5 separate regions of the Homo sapiens genome follow, and regions 1, 2, 3 and 4 are each linked to region 5. Evidence: promoter capture Hi-C in 16 types of primary human blood cells and fetal thymus (Javierre and others, 2016). All regions are on one chromosome and are shown on one strand. Each heading gives the region's core, a stretch centred on a gene start or on the middle of the fragment in contact. The rest is flanking DNA. Distances are from core to core; before and after follow the strand shown. Region 1 has its middle 79 kb from the start of MIR4771-2. Region 2 has its middle 57 kb from the start of MIR4771-2. Region 3 has its middle 140 kb from the start of MIR4771-2. Region 4 has its middle 25 kb from the start of MIR4771-2. Region 5 holds the start of BCL2L11 (BCL2 like 11).

What was found. Contacts are between HindIII fragments. The CHiCAGO score rates a contact against its expected background, and 5 or more counts as called.
Region 1: a fragment that was not itself captured here is called in contact with the fragment with the promoter of BCL2L11 in region 5 in 16 of 17 cell types (neutrophils, erythroblasts, endothelial precursors and 13 more); the score reaches 23.9 in neutrophils.
Region 2: a fragment that was not itself captured here is called in contact with the fragment with the promoter of BCL2L11 in region 5 in 17 of 17 cell types (erythroblasts, neutrophils, total CD4 T cells and 14 more); the score reaches 27.4 in erythroblasts.
Region 3: a contact is called between a fragment that was not itself captured here and the fragment with the promoter of BCL2L11 in region 5, in 9 of 17 cell types (neutrophils, M2 macrophages, erythroblasts and 6 more). The highest score is 11.6, in neutrophils.
Region 4: a contact is called between a fragment that was not itself captured here and the fragment with the promoter of BCL2L11 in region 5, in 4 of 17 cell types (naive CD4 T cells, total CD4 T cells, naive CD8 T cells and 1 more). The highest score is 7.7, in naive CD4 T cells.

What each region holds. Positions count from the first base shown.
Region 1 is chr2:111,690,332-111,693,031 of GRCh38, forward strand. No RefSeq gene overlaps it. Among named protein-coding and RNA genes, the nearest start is that of MIR4771-2, 79 kb to the right of the region's middle. The HindIII fragment of the contact is 1,440 bases long and covers 723-2,162 here.
Region 2 is chr2:111,712,973-111,715,672 of GRCh38, forward strand. No RefSeq gene overlaps it. Among named protein-coding and RNA genes, the nearest start is that of MIR4771-2, 57 kb to the right of the region's middle. RefSeq lists a silencer at 1,010-1,230. The HindIII fragment of the contact is 7,580 bases long and covers 1-2,700 here.
Region 3 is chr2:111,632,297-111,634,996 of GRCh38, forward strand. No RefSeq gene overlaps it. Among named protein-coding and RNA genes, the nearest start is that of MIR4771-2, 140 kb to the right of the region's middle. The HindIII fragment of the contact is 1,972 bases long and covers 452-2,423 here.
Region 4 is chr2:111,744,511-111,747,210 of GRCh38, forward strand. It overlaps the pseudogene CENPNP2. Among named protein-coding and RNA genes, the nearest start is that of MIR4771-2, 25 kb to the right of the region's middle. The HindIII fragment of the contact is 2,733 bases long and covers 1-2,675 here.
Region 5 is chr2:111,119,656-111,122,355 of GRCh38, forward strand. It overlaps BCL2L11 (BCL2 like 11), which reads left to right and starts at 1,259. Exons shown (of 4, transcript NM_138621.5): 1 at 1,259-1,533. RefSeq lists enhancers at 464-543, 1,694-1,813 and silencers at 824-1,363, 1,697-1,991. The HindIII fragment of the contact is 10,886 bases long and covers 1-2,700 here.

The DNA.
Region 1 (2,700 bases), core at 193-2,692, 570 kb after region 5:
CAGAGCATAATTGCATCTAAGAGAAAAAAAGTCCATAATATAAAAGTCCCCTTTTGGGACAGGATGATTTGCGTAATCAGCATTCAGGTCATATGGCCTCCAAATCTACTCCAAGATTCTGTCTCCCACACTAAGAAGGACCTAGGCTCAACAAGAGACCTCCCTGGGCCTGAATATCCTTGCAGCTTACAGCTTTGCCATTCTCAGCAACTTCCCTACCTGGCTAAGGTCAAACACTACACCCATAGCCCAGTGACAGAGCCTGGATTTGGCAGCAACCAGTATACCCCTAGTTCTTCTCTCACCTACTGGGTAGAAGCCCCACTGCCCAGTACAGGAGTCAATGGGCCCAGATTCAAGTCTCAGTTCTCCCTTTGCCAGCCAGGTGGCCCCAAACTGAGTCCTCACACTTAGCTTCCATTTCCTGAGAGAACAGCAGTATCTTCCCCATAGGATTCGGTTAGGAGCTGCATGGGGTAAAGCAGTGGTCCCGGGGTCAATGTTAAGAGAAAGAGGTCTCTCCCTTACCAATGATGACCATCCCACTGCTGTGATGTCTGAATTCCACTGTCTTACAGTAGGTTTGGTGTAGCTCTGAGCTCAGGGGCAAGGTGAACCCCTTCCTTTACCTTCTATTCCAAATAACATCTCATCTTGAGGGTCCCTGGTCCAACTTAGAGGCATCCTAACACCCTGCTGGGGTAACACTGGAAGATTTGGCAAGCTTGTCACCCTCACAGTTTCACAAGTATGTGACTCCTCCCTGGGATTCTGCAGCGCTTGCCTGTCCTCAAATCTTCGTTTATAACATTCTCCCACCATGACACTGAGCTCTGCAAGAGAAGGGGCTAAGTCTCGTTACCTTCTGTCTTCCCAGAGCCATCTACACAGTAGGTGTTTAACAAGTGTTGGTTGGATGAATGGATGGTTGAATGGACAGACAGATGAAGGGATGGATAAATGGTAGATGGATGGACAAACAGTGAATAGTTAGATGGATGGACGGATGGATGGATGGATCGATGGACAGATGGATGGATGGATGGATGGATGGATGGATGGATGGATGGATGGACAGATGGACAGATGAATGGATGGATGGATGGTTGGTCGCTAGCTGCAAATACAGCCCAGGTGGGAAGCTACATGCAGGTGAGCATGGTTTCAAAGTGGCTCTCTCTGTTCCCAGGGAAAGAAAGCATCTCTCCTCTCCTGCCTGAGGCCCCCTCTCCCAGGCTCTCCAAAGCAGCTGAGCCAGGAGAAGCTGGTGGTAGTTTGGGTTCATCACAACATCTCAAATCATTTTTCAAACTCTTGGCCCAGCCCCTCAAACTCTTTGCCAAGCACTTTTGTCTTCGGTTTATACACTCTGGGGAAATGTTATCTGAATGTTTCCAATTCATTTATGCTCAGCTCATCAAAATGCCATTTTATAAGAGCTGTCTAAACTCCAAAAGGTCTGGGAAACTTTCCCTTCCTATATTTATATGTGGAGAGCAGCCTGGTTTCTCCTGTTAAATGGAGGCCCTGCTGTGCCACCAGGCCCCACTCACTCTGCTTGCGCCTGGCTGCCCCATGACAACCTGGGGTAACTAAAGCACAGACACAACTCAGGCCATTTCAGGGCAGGAGGGCAGACTGGACACCACCCAGTCCACCTCACCTCCACACCCAACAAAGTCCTCTTGGACCCAGGGAGGAGACTAGGATGCCCAGTGCAAACGTTTTCAGAAAGAATCCTCCTGAGGTCACTGTCCTTAAGCACAAGTGAAGAGCTCAGAATTCTCAGGATCTTCAGGTAAGGAGGGACACACTCACCACATAGAGGCTTAGGGAGTCTCAGCTTCCTCATCCATTTCTTGCTGACAGGGCTTATGAGGTTTTAAACTAGAGAGTACCCTTCAAGCACCCAAAGCCCTGCCAGAGCCAGAGTCCCCTTAAAGAGAGGTCAGGAAGTGCTGGTGGGGGCTGCCTCCTCACCACCTTCAGCTCATTCTGCAGTGCAACCTGGAGTCAGAAAGAGAGTAAATCAACAACACCTACTCTAGCACCCCCTCTCAGCTACTTAGGCTGTTGGCCTCCACCTTCATCCACTCCCGTCTGCAACTCCCTAAAGTGGAGATGGCTTCCTCACCCCACTCACTTCTCCTAAGCCCAGTTCAAGCTTCTCCTGCTGGAGGGTGGAGGAAGAACACCAGAAATCAGAACAAAGCAAAAATCAATAAAACTGAAAACAGAAAAATTAATACAGAAAATCAGTGAAACAAAAAGCTGGTTCTTTGAAAAGATCAATGAAATTGACAAATCTCAAGCAAGAAAAAAGAAAGGGAAAACACAAATCACCAACATCACAAATGAAATCGGAGATAAAGCCATAGCTATTGTAAACACTGCACAGATAATAAAGAAATACTACAAACAACACTACATGCATAAATTTGACAACTTCAGTGAAATAACCCAATTCCTTGAAAAGTACCAACTACCACAACTCACCAAGATGAAATAGAGACTATCAATAGCCCTGAAACTAATAAATAACTAATAATTTTTAAACTGTCTTAAAAAAACTCCAGGCCTAGATGGTTTCACAGAAGGAAATTCTAACAAATATGTTTAAAACACCAATTTTATGCAATTTCTTCCAGAAAATAAAAGAAAGGAATACTTCTCAATTTATTTTATGAATCTAGTATCACC
Region 2 (2,700 bases), core at 128-2,627, 590 kb after region 5:
AGAAGAGACAGAGCCAAGAAACACTGTCTCACCACCCAAGCTGCTCAGGTGTGACATGCACCATCAGAGTCCTTCACCCCTGCCATGGAGGCTGTGCAGGGGAAACCAGGATGTCCAGAGCATGCAGAGCCCTGCAGGTCCCCTTCAGCCATGAGCAGCCTCGTCCCACCAGCACCTCCCAGTATGAGTGGTGCAAATGTTATTCTCTGCATGGGCGGGGAGGTGAGGAAGGCCAGGGCACCCTTGCAGGAGGATGCTCTCCTGCCCCTCCCATGCTGGCTTAAGCACCCTTTCTCAATGCTGCCATGGATAGAGATCCCAAGCTGACTGCCCTCCAGCGGCCCTTATGGTGTCATTCACTGCATGCATGGCATGACTCGTGAGAGCTGCTGTAGCCTTCACTTCCCATATTCCCAGGACTTTGCACATTAATAGATGGTCAATAGAACTCTCACCAAACACTTGCCACAAGGCAGGCGCTGTTTATAACACAATCAAGTATTAGTATAAACATGTGAGGTAGGTGCTATTCTAATCCCCATTTTAAAGATATGGAAACTGAGGCATGGAGAATTTGTGTTACTTGCCCAGGGTCAGCCAGATATACGCAGGCCTCAAACCCTGGCAGTTTGGCTACTGGGCTGTGTTCTTGACCATGTGTCATTCTATCTCTTAAGAAATGTGTGTTGACCGCATGTTCTCACTCATAGGTGGGAATTGAACAATGAGAACACTTGGACACAGGGTGGGGAACATCACACACTGGGGCCTGTCGTGGGGTGGGGGAGTGGGGAGGGATAGCATTAGGAGATATACCTAATGTAAATGACGAGTTAACGGGTGCAGCGCACCAACATGGCACATGTATACATATGTAACAAACTGCAAGTTGTGCACATGTACCCTAGAACTTAAAGTATAATAATAATAATAAAAGAAATGTGTGTTGAATAATCAGTCAAGGCCATCAATCAAGGCTTGCTAGAGTACCTATTTCTTACATAATACTACGCTAAAAATGGGTCCCCTGGGTTGGGAAGGGAAACAGATGACAAAGCAAGAGCAAGAAATGACAAAGCAGGCTGGGCACGGTGGCTCACGCCTGTAATCCCAGCACTTTGTAAGGCCAAGGCAGGCAAATCACGAGGTCAGGAGTTCAAGACCGGCCTGGCCAACATGGTGAAACCCTGTCTCTACTAAAAATACAAAAAATTAGCTGGGCGTGGTGGCATGCACCTGTAATCCCAGCTACTCGGGAGGCTGAGGCAGGAGAATTGCTTGAACCCAGGAGGCGGAGGTTGCAGTGAGCCGAGACCGCGCCACTGCACTCCAGCCAGGGTGACAGTGCGAGACTCTGTCTCAAAAAAAAAAAAAAGAGAGAAAGAAAGAAATGACAAAGCAGTGTAGTCCTGGTCAGTCCCACAGCAGCAACGCCTATTACCATCCCACTCTTGTAACAACCTCCGTAAGCAGCACCTGATACAGGTGTAGAGAGAGCTAGCCAGAGGGACGCTGCAGCTGGCATGGGCAGCGGATGTCTCTAGGGGGCTGGATTGTAACTGACACTGACTTTCTTCCTTGCGCTTTTGTTTTGTTTGCATTATTTTAATTTACAGTGATTATGATTTGATTTTACAGAAACCTTTTGTAAAGGTCAGGGTTTAGTCCCTCTCCTCAGGGGTTCACCGGCAAGTTGGGGTGATGTGCCAGAAGCTAATGAAAAGGACCAGCGCCACACAGGAAGAAAGAAAGCCCTGTGGCCTGGTGGCTTGGGAAGGACGCAACAGGACAGGTAAGACCGGCTGGGAGCCAGGTGAGAGCAGGGCTTGCATGGGCAGAGGCTGGAGGTAGGACCACAACAGCTAAGCTCAAGAGGTTCTCTCGTGTTTCTAAAAGGTGAGTGCAATGGAACGCTAGTTTGGGTGTGGTATTATTGTTTTTCTTGAACTAAAAATATTCAAGAACAAAATGGTGCAAAATAGCATGTCCCTCACCATTTCTTCTCTCAACTGCTAGAAAACTGCACATCCAGAATGTTTCCTTGGAAGGTTCTGGTGTGGTGAAGTGGGTGAGGCCAGTGGAGAGAAGCAAGGCACACACACGACTTCCTCAAAACCAAAACACGGCAGAGGAGATTCTGGGAACGAAAACCACAAGTGAGTCAGGGCAGGGAGAAAACATGTGGACAAAGTCTTCATCCCACCCCTCACACTTGAAAAGAACTTTCCAGGAAAAGGAAAAGCTCACACCCTCACACCCCAGGTGAGTGGGCAGCCATCCAGGTCACATGAGTCCTAAATGATTCCTAACACGGCCCTCTGGCAGTGACCACTCACCCCATCCTGACCTCGGGCTGAAAAGGGCAAACTTCTCCCCAGAAGGAGCACGAGACTCGGGCCTGTTTCAATCAGGACTCTGAGATATCTGCTCCCCTGCACACTATGTGCAGAAGTGAAGGCCCAGCCAGCAATGTGCAGTTAGAGAAGTCATTGCTGAATGAATGAATGAGTGAATGAATGAATGAATGAATGCACCACTGTGGTTCATCTGCATCACTGTGAGTCACAAAGACATCTATTGATCCACTGGACTCACATCCCTAATGGCAAAAAATACACCTCAAAGTGTTTTTGGGTTTTTTTGGTTTTTTTGAGACAGGGTCTTTTGCTCTGTCACCCAGGCTGGAGTGCAGTGGTGCGA
Region 3 (2,700 bases), core at 188-2,687, 510 kb after region 5:
ATTAGTATTAAATGTGTGTTGGATAATGCCATTTCCAAAATGTAGAACCCTCCTCTCCTAGACCCAGATTTTCATTCTGAGTCTCAGCGCCAGGGACCTTCCATCATTGAGAATCAGCCCTAAAAGTCCACAGCACAGGTTCTGGAATTAGGCCCAGCTGGTACACAGACCTGTGTGACTTCAGGAGACAAATATAATGATGGTTACACATTTCTAATCTCACCCATTTAGAGTCAAGACAGGTTCCTAAAATAATCACATACCCTGATTTCCTAACGGCCTTTGGCAAAGTTGCTGAACCTTCATTAGCAGCACATGTAAGGACCAGACAAACCACCCTTTCTCTCCACACTTCTGTCTCCCACTGATGCACAGTGAGAAGACTTATTTGGAGATTCGGCATCCCCCTCCAGATACCCTGAGCTGTCAGGTGATTGTAGAGCTATGCTGAAGCTTCCCTTTCCCACCTTGCACTGAATGATGTGGGCAATGACATCATCCTGGGGCCCTACTTCCTTTCTCAGGCTCAGCTTTCACCCCAGGGCTCAGAGAAAAGCAGCTTTTTAAGAAAACTGGCCCCCAGGAGCTGTTGTTTCTTTGGACTCTATCCTTCCACAGCAAGTGCAGCCCGGCACCAGTTTGAGCAATTGATTCAGGAGCAGCAGCTTCTGGATCTGGTTGTGCAAGAGAGAGAGTGCGTGTGTGTGTGTGTGTGGCAGGTGTACACGCAGATGCACAGTTTCCCAAACATAAACATCCTCATGGGTATTTTTTTCAGCTCCCAGAACTCCAAACAGCCTCTTAGCAGTGTCTCCATTCAATCCAAACTGCCCCATCCAATCCCTCCTCCTCACTCATACCACCCGGGTCTTTCTGAAACCCAAAACTAAGGGGAGTCATATCTCCCCTCCCTGTTCAGAACCATTTGGGAATGTACTGCCTCACTGCCTGGAACTGGGCTGTGGACCCACTGTCTACCTCCAAGCCTGACTTTCCCCACTCCTCTCCCTTTATGCTGCCCACTCACCTTTCAAGATTCAGTTAGGACTCATATCCTCTGTAAAATATTTTCCAACCAGTCCATCCATCTCCCCACCTCCGCACACAGAAACAACACCACATCATCTATTTTGTAAGCACTATCATCCTACACAGAGGTTTCTATGGGATAAAAAGCCCCTGCAAAGTACCTAGCCCATAACGGCACTTGACAAATGTTGGGCAAGTGAATGAACACATCTTGCAGCTGGCAGAGAATTCCAGGCCCTTATCTGAATTGAATAAAGGATACATCAAAAAGAAAAGTTTGAGGCCAAGGGGATCCCCCACATCAGGGAACCGTGCAGTGGGAGCCTGCTGGGTCCTCCAAAGAATACACATGTATCTCCCAAGAGGCCCGTCATGTGGATGGCAATGAGGCAGAGGGTGCTTAGGGCCAGAAAAGACCAACGGAGAAGGGCCAGAGCCATAGCCAGCTTCCCCCTTCGGCCTGCCCGGGCACAGGGGAGCTGCACACGGGGAGAGGCCAAAGGAGGAGGAAGGAAAGAGCAAACCTTATCTGCACCCGTGCCCAGTACTGCTTCCCAGAGCCTGAGATAGGCCTGTGTTGGAGGAAGAGACTCCCTTTCCTGTTCTCTCTCCCCTGAGTTCTTGGGTTCTCAAAAAAAAAAGAATCAGAGAAGACACTAACCAGAGCACATATACCTTCCTTCCCTCTCATCCCAAATCTCTGGAGACAAGAATAAAGTATGCTTTATAAAAGAAAACAATCCTTACCTGGGTCAGATAACCAGAAAGGGTGCTTAAAGGACCCAAAACTTATAAGACACCATGAGGGATGAGGTCAGATGGTGACTGAGCCCGCATCCACAGTGTCTTTGTCTGTTTTGTGTTGCTACAACAAAATACCACAGACTGGGTGCCTTATAAACACTAGAAGTTTGTTTCACTCGTGATCTGGAGGCTGGGAAGTCCAAGATCAAGAAGCCACATCTGGTGAGGGCCTTCTTGCTGTGTCATAACAGGATGGAAGCCATCACATGTGTGAGAGAGAGTGAGAGAAGGTGCCAAACTCACTCTTCATAAGGGCCCACTCTTGAGATAATAAGCCCATTCCCCAGATAACAACATTAATCCATTCATGAGGGTAGACCCCTCATGCCACAATCACTTCTTAAAGTTTCCATCTCTCAACACTGTTGCATTGGGGATTATGTTTCCAACACATCACTTTTGGGGGACACATTCAAACCATAACACACAGACAGCCTACTCTGCACAGCCTTGCCTGCCCAATACCACCCCTGTCATTAGACTGTAATAAAGGGGAAATAGCAGTCAGACAACCTTCAATACAAAAGTGAAAGGGACATCAACAAAAGCATAAGTATTTAAAGAAGACTATAATCCATCAGAAAAAAAAAAGCTTCAAACACACAAATAGAAAAATAAATTATCCAGAAAAAGAATTAGGAAGAAACAGAAGATAATCTTTAAATAGACATAATTAAACTGATACCAATCATAGGTATACATTCTTTTACAAATAGAAATTTAAAATGTTTAAAGTAAAAACTACTAAAAAAAGAACAAGTAAAATCTTCAAGGCATGAGAGAGGATAGGATTAATTTTTTTAGAAAAAGAAAAAGAAAATAAATTAAAAGAACTTAAAATCCTATACTCAACCAAACTATCATTCA
Region 4 (2,700 bases), core at 59-2,558, 620 kb after region 5:
ATCCCCTTCAGTGAGTAATAAAGTTCTCTTGCTCACGTCTTTTGGAAGCAATGAAATCCTTAACCCCCGCCAGCCTTGCAGATAGACCGCTTTCTCCACCACTCACTTGCATATCCAGCAAGGGAATGAGTTATTTTAAAATTAGAGATAAATGAGACGTGGGTGGTTTTGTATGCACAGGAGCTCCTTCACTGTATGGTACATGCGTTTCAGTTCATGGCTAGCTATATGGCTTCTGTTTATACACTAGTACTTTAGAAGTTAACCCTTGGTATTGAAATTTCAGAAATGTTCATGTAATTTTTGGGACTGACTCATTCCTCCATGATATGCCTCCTCTCTCCCATATCTGCTAATTGTCACAGTTGCGAGCACTTGAGATGCAGGATATAGACGTGGCTGCACACTTGACCTTGAGTGCCTGCATGCTCTGAGGTCAAGCATACGGCGCAGTGCTGGAGACGGTGGGAGTCGTGTCCTGCATCCTTTCTCCCACTCCTGTCCTCTTTGATCCTGGGGAGGTCTGGTTCCAATTGCTGCGTTTCCAGAGACTCATTCTTAAGTCTCGGATCACAGAAAGAAGCAACAAGAAACTATATCCAACTCAAAACTTTTTAGGAGAATCATAAAAGTGGTCCATTCAGAGGGTAGAGTTGGGTCCACTACGTTATTGTTGCAAGAGGCTGCATATTCAGTAAATGGGTTGTGTAAAATAATGTTCTCTTTTTTTTTTTTTTTTTTTTTTGAGATGGAGTTTCACTCTTATTGCCCAGGCTGGAGTGCAATGGCGCGATCTCAGCTCACCGCAACCTCCGCCTCCCAGGTTCAAGTGATTCTCCTGCTTCACCCTCCCTAGCAGCTGGAATTACAGGCATGTGCCACCACACCTGGCTAATTTTGTATTTTTAGTAGAGACAGGGTTTCTCCATGTTGGTCAGGCTGGTCTCAAACTCCCGACCTCAGGTGATCCACCCTCCTCGGCCTCCCAAAGTGCTGGGATTACAGGCGTGAACCACTGCACCCAGCCAATAATGTTCTCATTGTTAATATGATACTTTTTATCATCTGTTTTTATCATATGTGTTACATTAAACTGATAAATAGCAATATTATAACGACTTGTGAATAGAGATAATGAAAAGCTGATCAAAGAAAAAAAAAAGATAACATACCAAATCGAATGCTGAAGAAAGAGACCCCCAGTGCCATACCATAGATCTAATGCAGTGAGGGGCAGCCGCTCTGGCCCCATCTGGAGGCAGCTGAATCAGGACGCCTCTGCCACAGCTGTCAGCCCCTGCCCCTGCCCCTCCACCGCAATCTGCCCCAGCCATGGGAACTGTTTGGGATCAAAGCCTTGAGTGGGTGCCTATGATCCCTGGACCTAAATCATATGTTTGCACCTCAAAAACAAGGATGGTTGTGAAATGGAATATTTGGAGACTCATTAGAAGGCAGGAGGTACACTGTGGGGAACTATCAAACTGTGAAGAGGGTGCTGAAGATTTGAGGAGCTACAAATGGCAGAGGTCCACCACAGCACACTCACTGACTCAGCCAACACATGAAAAAACAAAAGCGAGGTTAAGGTACGCCACCGGAGCGCTGCTGCAGGAGGAATGCGGCACACTGCATTCTTGCCTCCTTTGTTGGACAATGGGAGAAAACAATGCGTGGTACTAGAAAAATCAGAAAAGGATGTTGCTGTTCACTGACAAAGTGATTTCCCCGGAGGGACCCCACCACGACAGCAGCCACATCCATGGGCCACAGCTTGGAAAGTGTCCAGGCCACGCCCTCTGGGGAAATCCTAGCACTCCTCTTGTCTGTCTCTCCCTCTCAGGGACCACAGCTCTGCGCTGTCTGATGGCAAGAGTTTCGCTTTGTTGTTTTTTTCCTCATCTATTTTGTCCTGTGTTAATTATGTCAGGTGAAAGGATAAACGCCGTCCCTGCTACTCCATCTCATCTGGAAGCAGAAAAGCAGTGCAATGACCCTAAGAGTCACAGGGAGGATAAGGGTGGCTTTCACCACCCCAGCCCAGCCACCTCTGACTCTACCTGGAACCTCTCCTGACCTGCCCCCAACTCTTCCCAAGGAGAGGCTTCCTCCCTCTCTGGTCCTCTCGCAGACCCCCCGCTGCATTCTGAGCCACTCCTCTTCCCTCAGCTCCCACTCACCTCCCACATCCCCTCCATCCCCCTCACCACGGCCCCACTGCATTTTAGTGTCTGCTGTGGTTGACCCCAGATGTCTGCACCAGCCTGTCTCATCTGAACACGCTCCCCTCTCCAGCTGCCCATCCATCACTGCCCCCTTCATGCCATACTGAAGACAGTGCCTTGTTCATGTGGGTGACATTTATGTATCTGCATAGCGTGGGTTCTTTTTTCTGCTCTGATAAGGACCCAGCATGTAGAAATGGAATTCATTTCCCATACATAAACTCAGGCACTAACCAGACTGCATGGCCCAATAAATATAATTCAGAATTAGGAGCCGCAGGAGCACAGCCCTTCCTCACTTGACCATCCTATCACCAAAAGGCCCACCAAGGAGGAAGCCTTACCACACACTCAATCTCTATTGACAGCAATCAAAATGCTTAGCAACTTCTCTAAGAGACTCTAAGAGAGAAATGGCCCTAGATTAATCAACGACCATACATACATTTAAGCTTCTTAATAAATTGTCCTATAA
Region 5 (2,700 bases), core at 9-2,508:
TCACCTGCGGGATGTTCCATTTCCCGATCCACCTCCCACACCCCCGCTGCAGTTGTCTAGAAGCTGGGGCTGGGGAACTGAGGCGCGGGAGGAGCAGACAGGAGGGCCGGGGTTGGGGCGCCAGCCACGCGTTGGGAGAGCAGACCCGGGTGCAGACTCAGAGGACTGGAGAGGCGGCATGGAGTTTGGTCTCCTGGGAGGTAGAGTGAGGTGCTGCGGACTCCAGGGAGGAAAGGGATGGGTGGGGAGGCGGGAGGGGAGGAGGGACGGGGTATTTTGCGCTCCCGCACCGCGGCCCGAACTCAGCTGTTCTGCCTTCACTGGCCTCAGCCAGTCGAGGGAGCTCCTACGAGGTTATCTGCGAGCCCAGCAAATCTTGGGGGTCCTAGCCAAATGCAGTGCGCAACGTTCTCTCTCACTTGGAGGCCGCCATTCACCTCGTTTTTTTTTTTCCTAAAAGGATTTTTTTTTCTGAGTGCTTTTTTCATTTCCCTATTTTACCTGCTTTGCACATGCCTCCCGCCCTCACCCGGGAGGCGGCGAAGACGCCCACTGGGACCGCGCCTGGCCGTTTTCTGGGCGCGTCCTGCCCCCACGGCCTCTGTCTCTTAGGGCGACTGGGCGCGGAAGAAAAGCTGGAGAGCCCCTGCGGGGTGGCAGGAGGAGGGTGCCTGAGTCCCGCGAGAGGCCCGGGCGAGGAAGATGCGCAGCCTGCTGATCCGCGTCCCGCCCGGCGCCAGGGACCCTCAGAGGGAGGAGAGCTCAAAGACCTCGCCCCGCGCCTTCGCGAGGACCAACCCAGTCCCCGCGCCTGCCCCAGAGCGGCTTAGAAACTCAGGGCACAGTGAGAGCGCAGGGCGCCTCCCGAGGCTTCACACCGCCGGCCGGGCCAGCGGAGGCTGTGACCGGAGCGCCCCCTCTGTGCCGCGCACGCCGCGGCCGCCGCCGGGTTGGGGTAGGTGAGCGGGAGGCTAGGGTACACTTCGGGGTGGGGGATGGGCGCGCACATGGCCGCCAGCAGGCAGAGTTACTCCGGTAAACACGCCAGGGACGGCGGCGCGCGCGGGAGGCAACCCAGCGGGGCAACCCCCGCCTTTACCTGTCCGAGCCTGCACGCGCCGGCGGCCGCGGCGCCGAGGGGGGCGGAGCTTGCCAGCCCGCGCGCCGGGGCGGGACCTAGCGGGGGCGGGGTCCGCAGTGATTGGGCGTAGGAGCGGGGCCGCCAGCCAGAGCTGGGCTGCAGGGCCGCGCAGGTTTCACTTCGCTCCGCGCAGCCGCCTGGTCTGCAGTTTGTTGGAGCTCTGCGTCCAGCGCCGCTGCCGCTGCCGCCGCCGCCGCCGCCGCCGCCGCCGCCGCCGCCGCCGCCACTACCACCACTTGATTCTTGCAGCCACCCTGCGAACCCTGCCACACTGCGATCGCATCATCGCGGTATTCGGTTCGCTGCGTTCCCGCCGCCACCGCCTCGGCGCCCTTTCTTGGCCCTTGTTCCCCCAAATGTCTGACTCTGACTCTCGGACTGAGAAACGCAAGGTAAATACCTCCAAATCCCGGGGCGCGGGCCTGGCACCGAAGGAAGACTAGCGCTGGAGCCCGAACGGCACCACCTACTGCCCGCTTCCCGTGCACGTGCGAGCGGAGACGCTTGCATCGGCGCCGCTTGTCGCCGGCGGGAGGTGGGGATCCGTGTGGATCGGGTTCCCTCTCGGGCAGGTTCTCTTTAAAGAAAAGTCGTTCACGCGGAACCTGCAGGCTCTTGGCCGAAGTGCGGCTTGGGACGGGATGCTGCGCGCGGGCCTGGTGAAGGGTCGTAGGTCCGGGCAGGAGGAGAGGCAGCGCGTGCCTTTCGGCGCCGGCCCGGGAGCTGAGGACCTGCTCGTAGTATCGGGCTGTGCGCCCAGCTGGAAAGTCTCGCCGCCGGCTCCGGCGCCCTCAGAGTAGCGGCCGCGCAGTGTGAGGGTGTTTCGTGTCTTGGTTTTTTGGGGCGCGTGGGCCTGTTGCGGAGGATTTGCGGAACTGCGGTGGTGATTTAACTGACGAGACACGGCTTTTCCTTTTACTCATTCAGGCCAAGGTTTCGGGGCCACTGCTGCGTTCGCTTTCTCAAGCGTACCTGGGGCCCCTGCTTGCTCTGCAGGAGTCCTGCGGCCTGTGCCATCCGCACGATTCCCTGGCAGCGAGAAATCTAGGTCCTCCCCTGACCACCTGGACCGCGCAGGGGACTAGTCGCGGCCGGCAGAACCTGCTCGGTCCCTGGGCCGGGCTATCTTAGCGGCTCACGCATGCCCGAGCACACCCGACCCGGTTCGCGGTGCAGGCTGGCGGCGCCGTGCCCTCTGGGACCTGTTGCCCCAGGGTTGGCGCTGCTGGTGGAGGGCCCGACGGACGCCAGGGCGGAGGGTGTGAATTTACTCGATGGTCGCGGACGTGCGCGTCCGCGGCCAGGGGTGGCTCTTCGGCTTTGACTCGTGTCTGCGGCGCACCAGGAGAGAGAGGAAGTTGTTGGAGGAGAATAGTTGCCACAGCCAGGGCGGTGACGGCCGTTAGGGTCTGCCCCCGACGGGCCAAAACAAGGACAAGTGGCGAGGACTGGGCCTGGGGATGGCCCTGCGGGTCCGGGCGCGGCGCAAGTCCTGCTTTGTCTCCAGGTGACTGGCTGTCCAGGACGGCGGGAGCTGCTAAGGCTTGTGTCCGGAAGGA